Linked DNA regions of Homo sapiens: region 2 is linked to region 1. The links are contacts of gene promoters, found by promoter capture Hi-C in blood cells and fetal thymus (Javierre and others, 2016). All regions are on one chromosome and are shown on one strand. Each heading gives the region's core, a stretch centred on a gene start or on the middle of the fragment in contact. The rest is flanking DNA. Distances are from core to core; before and after follow the strand shown.

What was found. Contacts are between HindIII fragments. The CHiCAGO score rates a contact against its expected background, and 5 or more counts as called.
Region 2: a contact is called between a fragment that was not itself captured here and the fragment with the promoter of FAM200B in region 1, in 1 of 17 cell types (activated CD4 T cells). The highest score is 5.8, in activated CD4 T cells.

The regions. Positions count from the first base shown.
Region 1 is chr4:15,679,705-15,683,904 of GRCh38, forward strand. FAM200B (family with sequence similarity 200 member B) reads left to right here and starts at 2,123. Exons shown (of 2, transcript NM_001145191.2): 1 at 2,123-2,197. It also overlaps a transcript of FBXL5 not described here. RefSeq lists enhancers at 1,623-1,922, 2,093-2,332, 2,343-2,392. The HindIII fragment of the contact is 4,207 bases long and covers 1-3,237 here.
Region 2 is chr4:17,503,633-17,507,832 of GRCh38, forward strand. QDPR (quinoid dihydropteridine reductase) reads right to left here. Exons shown (of 7, transcript NM_000320.3): 3 at 747-843. Among named protein-coding and RNA genes, the nearest start is that of QDPR, 6.4 kb to the right of the region's middle. The HindIII fragment of the contact is 2,433 bases long and covers 568-3,000 here.

The DNA.
Region 1 (4,200 bases), core at 873-3,372:
TTCAGGATTTTACTTATCTATCAAAAAATCCCAATTATATTCCTGTTCTTTCCAATCCCCCTAAAAAAAAAAAAGCAGTATGTCTCATTCTCTTCTCTGCTGATAGGAGTGTAAAATGGATCACTCTATGAAGGGCAACTGTAAATATCTATCATATTTGCAAACACATTTCCTCTTGGATCCAGCAATTCTTTTCAGAATCTGACAGTTACCCCTGCAAATGTAGAAATGACATGTATTCACTGAAGAGTTGTTTCTAATATCTGAAGACTGGAAACAACGCCAAGTGTCCACCTACGCGTGATTTACTGTATAAACTGGAGTATATCTACAAAATGGAGTATGTGACAGGAAAAAATAAGTTTAATTGAATACTGATAAGGAGGAATATCCAGAATATACAGTAAAACAGGAAAAAAAAAAACATGAACAATGCAGAAAATATTGAAGGAGAGACCGAGTGAAATAAGACTGTATATTCTCATCTGCTTGTATCTCTGCATGAAGACCGGAAGGATAAACAAGAAACTAATTTAAAATGATTACCCGTGAAGACTATTAGGAATGGTACTGGATAGGGACTAGGGAGGAAGTGTTTCTTGCTGCATTTCTTTTCATGTAGTTTGAGCCATGTAAAAGAAATATTTGCTAATCAAAAAACAGCTTTAAAAATCCAGTGGGAGAGGCTGGGTGCAGTGGCTCACCCCTGTAATCCCAGCACTTTGGGAGGCCCAAGTGGGTGGATCACCTGAGGTCAGGAGTTCGAGACCAGCCTGGCCAAAATGGTGAAACCCCGTCTTTGTATTTTTGAAAAATACAAAAATTAGCCTGGCATGGTGGCGGTCGCCTGTAATCCCAGCTACTCGGGAGGTTGTGGCAGGGGAATCGCTTGAACCAGGAGGCTGAGGTTGCAGTGAGCCGAGGCTGCGCCACTGCACTCCAGCCTGGGCGAGAGAGTGAGACTCCGTCTCAAAAATTAAAAAAAAAAATCCAGTTGGAGAATCAAAAATTTTTAAAAATTTGACTGTGTAATCCTACAAGAAGTAAGTAGCTTGAGAAAGAGAAATGCTGATAAAGTCGCATTAAGTTTCAGAGTTGAAATTCAAGCTCCTGTATCTAACATGTTTCCCTGTTTAAGGTAGAATTTAAAAAAAAACTATATATGACATATATATGTCAACCCAAAAAAATAAAGCAGTATATATTATATATATAAGAATATATATATATTCTCCTTTATATGTTTTTTGTTTCACATATATATATAAATATATATCTCAACCACAAAAAAATTTGGTTTGTGACAAAGATGCACTTATTTGCACGAACCTATCTTGTTAATGATCAAGAAATCTGCTTTGTTACAATCATTAGAGGACAGAAATATACATACATATTTAAATCTATTTAATGAAATGCAGTTTTATGTTAAAAATCAATGATCTGCTAACCTAAAGAGTCGCACAGGAATACTATGATTATTAAACACAATGCGATTCTCTAAATAAGTAAACACGTGCAATGATATCAAAGTTCAAAATTCTCTAATTCTTCCACAAAGACTATGAAAATCACCTTGGAGTGTATGAACCAGCGTCCTGGCCCCGCCAGGTCGGGGCTGGGGCGGGCGCGGGCCGGGAGCGCTTACCCCGCGGCAGGAGCGATTCAGCGCCACTACCTGCTTCGCCTGGTTGTGGTGTGGCTGCTGCGCCAACCGAAAGGCCTCCTTAATCCGCAGCAGTCTCTTTTCGCTCCCATGGCTCTGGGACTCTGTCCGGACTAGCCCTGTCCGCGCTCGGCTACATCCGGCCCGCCCACCAGCTCAGAGGCAGAGTTCTCCGCGGTGTCTCCTAGGGTTTCTTGTCAGAGGGCCCCAGGCGCCTAGGGAGTCGTTACCGCCCTGGCATTCAAATAACTCCCGCGAGAGGCGGAAATCCCGCGAGACTGCCGACAGAGCGTAGGGAAGTGGAAAAGTGGAGCCTGCACCGCCCGCTCCCGGCACCCCCGGACACCGCCCCGGTCTCACGCATGCGCAGAGGGCCGATCCAGTTCTTTTCGGCTGGAATGGGGAATTTGTGAGGTAGGCCGGAAGTGGTGTTGCGGAGGGAAGTGTGGGGAGAGCAGAGGCGCAGCTCTGCTGGAGAGACCTGAGGCTTGCAGCGCTGGGCCCGGCCGGGTCGCTGCGGCTGGGCTGGAGGTGAGGCGAAAGAAGGGCATCCTCTGATGGGAGTGGACCGGAGTCCGCTAAAGCGAAGCATTCCAGGGTTCGTTGCGGGAAATACAGTCTGGTTTTGCCCCCCGTATGAATTGAGGGAAGGTGAGAGCAGAAGCAATCCGGGCCTGAAGGGCGATTATTCTAGGGTCGGCCGAGGGGTTCAGGCCAAAGTTCATTGAAATCCTAGCTGGGTCCCTGGAGGACGAGAAAACCGGTCAGGAGTCTCCTGGGAAGAGGGTCATGTTTTAATCTAGCTAAAGCTGGTACCTGGCAGTTTCCACTCTTAAGGCCTAGTGTACTAACTAATGTGTGCGCAATGTCAAAACAGGAAACAAAGGGAAATGCAAGAGGTGGAAGGTAATTTTAAGTTAGTGGCAGTATGACAGATTTCCAGTGCCTTCAGGAAGGTATCCAGCCTTAAAGATGCTTTTTTTAAATAGACGATTTTAGACAGAAAAAAGGTAGAAACAAAACTATAACACATGTGTACTCACCACTGAATTGGAGAAATAAATGATTATATAAGTGATTGAAGTCCTTTGTCAGCTCTACCCCGTCTCATTCTCTTTCCTTTTGCCTAAGGAAACCACTCTCCTAACCACCTTTATGCAATCTGTAATGTGTACATCTTTTTGCAGCTAGCTTGTTTTACATAATGTTTTTGAGATTTGTCAGTGTTGTGTAACTCCACCTTATTCATCTTAATAGCTGAACAGATATTCTGTTATTTTAATATGTCACTGTTCATTGTTTAGTATCTCCAGTGCCTGACATACTTTAGGCACTGTAGGTAGCTAAATGTTAGTTGAATGCATGGCTGCTGTAGCATTTGAACTAAGTAGAAAAGAATAAATAGGACTTCATGTGACCCAACAAGAGTATTCCAGGCAAAAGGAATACTAGCCAAAAGCAGAGACATGAAAGTGCATGAACTATTTCAAGAATTTCCATACTTTTAGTACTGAAATGTAGAATGTATGGAGATCATGTGATGAAGGAGAAACCTGGAAAGATGAGGCTTAAGCTTAAAGGATATTATCCTGAAGAGCTTACACAAGCTCGGCGCCATTAAATGCTTTTCCAGTTATGAGGAAGCTGATTAGAGCTGTATTTTCAGAAGATGATACAGCGCACTAGAGATATATCTTAGGATATAAAAGATTAGTGACGGGGAATTTTAGACTATCAAGCATTGTAACAATAACAATCATTGCATTAAGCAAGTAAGACAACCAGCCAGACTAAAAATCCAAAAACATTTTCCTAGTCCATCATATTATCACATTCCTTAACAATTATTAATATTTCATATTTTCTTCTGACAAACTTGCAACATTTTCTACTTCGGCCTCTTACTTAGATGATACCTCACATCCTATTGAGTTAAAAAAAAACTTCCCCATGCTTTCATCACCACATCTACCAGACCTGTTCCCTAATATACTGCCACTGCTGTTACTATAGATGAACTGTCTGATTTAGGAGGGAGAGTAAACCCTTTAAAAATATCTTTTTAATACAATAGTAACTGAACTAGTGTTACAAACTTTCAAGGGGGGATTGAAACGTGAATAGTAAGAATATGAAAGAATGGAATAGTTAAAAGACAATTGCTTCTAAGAGATAAATGATCCATATATAGTAATATAAAAATAAGATACTTTTTTAATGTATATTTCTTTTTTTCAGGTAGATTTAGGTTCTAAGCTTTAAAAGCTAAATCTAAATTTACATGTATGTTTTTATAGGATCATTGTTTCTACTATTTCTTAACATAAGCAGTTTATTATGAAGTAGAATCTTTAACAATCCTGTTTTAAATAATATGTTTTATTAGCCTTCGTCTTACATATTTCCCAGTTGTCCAAATATAGTTGGATAACTTATTTGTTACTGACTGTGATAAAAATAGAGTGTACATTGTACAGTTTACTACAGGTGTCATTAATTTTCTCATTCTCTCATATGCATTGAGTAACTACCAT
Region 2 (4,200 bases), core at 534-3,033, 1.8 Mb after region 1:
GCTTAGAAATGTTCATAATGAAAAGTTGAAAAATGGGCCAGGCGCACTGGCTCACGCCCGTAACCCCAGCACTTTGGGAGGCTGAAGGGGGTGGATCACCTGAGGTCAGGAGTTCAAGACCAGCCTGGGCAACATGGTGAAACCCCGTCTCTACTAAAAATACAAAAAATTAGCTGGGCTTGGTGGTGGGCACCTGTAATATCAGCTACTCGGGAGGCTGAGGCAGGAGAATCGCTTGAACCTGGGAGGCAGAGGTTGCAGTGAGCCGAGATTACACCATTGCACTCCAGCCTGGTGACAGAGCAAGACTCTGTCTTAAGAAAAAGGGTAGGGGAGTAGAGGGGAGGGGAGGGAAGGGAAGGGAAAAGAAAAGATGAAAAAAGGAATCAGCTTTAGTAAAATCTCAAGTTTGACTTCTTCTGACTTTCTAAATGATCTCTGCACTTCCTACACATCCTCCAATGCCTGAATAGCACATGGCCTGGGGCACAGGCCATGCTGATTTCATTCTGCCTCTACTTTAAACTCAAACTCAATGCCCCCCGTCCCCTCACGTCCTCCAGGGGAAGCTTCTTCTTTATCCGTAAAATGGATTAAGAGCATTAATCACTCTCTCCCCGAGCAACTGTAAAGATTCCGGGATATACACAAAAAAACAGCTGGCCTGTCACCTAGTGCAAACCCAATCCTTGTCAGCTGGAAAAAGAGCAGAGCAGAACAAATGAGTGACTCAGGAAAGGACTCACACTTGGATTTGGCATTGCCCCCGGCCCATCCTCCAGCAACGCAAAGAATTGCATCCACCTTCTCTTCACCCAAGAGCTTTCCAACCTCAGCAGTCACCTTCAACACAAGAACAAAAAAATGTATAAACTGTAAGGTAAGCCAACACAGGCTAGCATCTTTACGGATACTCAGTTTCTTTTTCTCTTCTTTTTAAGCCAGTTTACAGTACCTGGCAATTAATGCTTTGAGAATTAGACGGAAGACTAAGCTCTGATGAGCATTTTAGACATTGAAGCCCAAGTACACTTCAGTGTGATTTTTAAAAAACAATCTAGAGTCTCTGTGTATACATTCTGAAAGGTAGAGACATGAGCATCCCTTGAAATACAACAATTAATAAATAAAAGTAGGGAAAGGTTAAAAAAAAAAGAAAAAAGCACCTAGAGCTTCACTGCCTGCACATAGTTAACATCCTGGTGTATTTCTTTCCAGACTCTCTTCACAAATCACAGAATTATAATCCAAAAAGAAGATCAACCCTGTTTTCCCCACCCCAATCCAAAAATCCCTTTAACTGCAACTCTGAAAAAAATGCCAACGAAAAATTGTAAGAAAAATCATGAGCCAAGAAAAAATACAGTCAATAGCAATATGTTGGTAATATTAAGTACATGGGGGTTCACTTTAATGATCTCTCTGCTTCTGTTTGTTTGAGATTTTAAAGCATTGAAAATATATGTATGCCCTCTTGTTATAATTTATGAAAAGAACAGTCTGTCAGGACAGGCAATTCTGGCCATCCACCACGACTCTTCCGTATTTCTCTGGAATGGCTGAGATGACAAATCCCAATTGCTTCATTAAGATCAATCTTCTTAAGATTTCTTTTTTTTTTTTTTTTTTTTTTGAGATGGAGTTTCGCTTGTCTCCCAGGCTGGAGTGCGATGGCGCCATCTCGGCTCACTGCAACCTCCACCTCCCCGGTTCAAGCGAATCTCCTGCCTCAGCTTCCTGAGTAGCCGGGATTACAGGCGCCTGCCACCACACCTAGCTAATTTTTGTATTTTTAGTAGAGATGGGGTTTCGCCATGTTGGCCAGGCTTGTCTCGAACTCCTGACCTCAGGTGATTCGCCTGCCTCGGCCTCTCAGAGTGCTGGGACAACAGGACTGAGCTACCACGCCTGGCCCAATCTTCTTAAGATTTAAATCAGGCTGGGCACAGTGGCTCATGCCAGTAGTCCCAGCACTTTGGGAGGCAGAGGCAGAAGGATCACTTGAGCCCAGGAGTTCAAGACCAGCCCGGGCAACATAACAAGACCTCATCTCTACATTTAGTTTTTTTTAAAAAAGACTTAAATCAACACCCTGTGTCTCTCCCAGTAGGAACATTTCAGTTGATTACCTCTTTCCCCAGTTTCATGACAAAACTGAATGTTATGCTGTTTGTTCAGAAATTCTTAAGGTTGGGGGTATGGTGGAGAAGGTACTCCTCTTCCTTTGGTGGAGTAGTAGAAGAAGGAAGAGATTTTCAAAGAAAAGTTTATAAGCACAAACGCATCTCTCAATCTCTGTCTTAGAGATGCACTCTACTGCCAAGCCTTGGGTGGGGACAACCTCCACATTCAATCTACAGGGACATTAGAAACCTATAATTAATCAGAGCAGAAGAGACACTGAAGAGACACCAATTACAGAGACCCGCACCTGGCAGGGCTGCTGCTCTCCAAGCCCAGGAACCGCCCTTCCATTTAGTTTTGGCTTTTATTACTTTATTTTTTGTTTGTTTTTTAGAGAAGGTTGGGCTCTGTTGCCCAGATTGGAGTGCAGTGGCATGATCTCGGCTCATTGCAACCTCTGCCTTCCAGCCTCAAGCCACCCTCCCACCTCAGCCTCCCGAGTAGCTGGGACTACAGTTGTGTGCCACCACATTCAGCTAATTTTTGTATTTTTTTGTAGAGATGGGGTTTCGCCATGTTGCACAGGCTGGTCTTAAACTCCTGGGCTCAAGTGATCCTCCTGCCTCAGCCTCCTGAAGTGCTGGGACTACTGGCATGAGCCACTGCACCCAGCCATTTTGGCCTTTATTACTTTATTCACATGAAACTATTTTGCTTTAAGGCAGCTTAGCATAGCAGTTAAGAGAACAGCCGTCAGACCCCCACTGCCCATGTCCAAATAGTGGCTATGCAACCTTTTATCTGTTTGACCTTGGACAAATACCAGGGCCTTTCTGTGCCTCAGTTACCCCCATTTAAAAGGAGGATAAAATTAGAAGCTTTGTTTGGGGATGTAATGAAGACTACACGTGTTAATGAAAATAAAGCACTGAGAATGGTGCCTGGCAACTAACAATGATGCCATGTCAACTTTCACTATTAAATTCACTAAGGTCAATCTGTATGACTTAGGTATGGGAACATTGAGACCACAGTGAGAAAAATAAGAACAACAAAAATGAAGTGCTAAAATAAGTCATCTGGCTTTTACATTCCAATCTATGTCAAACTGACACTTTAGAAAGAGCAAATGAGTAGCAGAGTTGTGCTCACAGTTTTATGTTCAAAATGTATAGATTTATACATGTATATTTTGGAGAGACAGACTGGAAGGAAATATAAATAAATGATTAACTATATGGTAGAACTATAAATGATTTCCCTTTTCTTTTTGCTTATTTGTATTTTCTATATCATACATGCATCACTTCTAAAATTTTAAAAATTTGTTATAAAAACCAGATAAGGATCATAAAACATCAGTATTGAGATTACCAAGGAAAGTGCAACTAAATGAAAAGCAGACCCACGTACAGACCAAGTGGCACCTGAACTTATTAAAGTTCGTATCTGGAGACCTATGATCCTGACTCCACCACTGAGTAGCTTGTTGGCCTTGTCACTTAGTCGCGCAAACTTGTCTTCACAGCTGTAAAATGGCCTGCCTGCCTGCCACACTGAGTGGTTGGGAAAATAAGGCGCTTCACATAGTGATGTGAAGTTATCCTTGGGAATGTGGGCTACAGCACTAAAAACCATTAAACACAGAGTCAGCTGCGCACAGTGGCTACTCAGGAAGTCCCAGCTATTCGGGAGAATGAAGCAGAAGGATCCTTTGAGCCCAGGAGTTCCAGTCCAGCCTGGGCAACACAGTGAGAACCTGACTCAAAAGTCATCCAGGCAGCTCACCAGAAGGGCTTCTCAAGAAAGTTAAGCACTGCTTAAGAGCATCAAAGATTTTTCTTTCTTTTTTTTTTTTTTGTTTTGAGACAGAGTCTCACTCTGTCACCCAGGATGGAGTGCAGTGGCACAATCTTGGCTCACTGCAACCTCTGCCTCCCAGGTTCAAGTGATTCTCCTGCCTCAGCCTCCCGAGTAGCTGGGACTACAGGCGTGCACCACCACGCTCAGCTAATTTTTGTATTTTTAGTAGAGACGGGGTTTCACCATGTTGGCCAGGATGGTCTTGATCTCCTG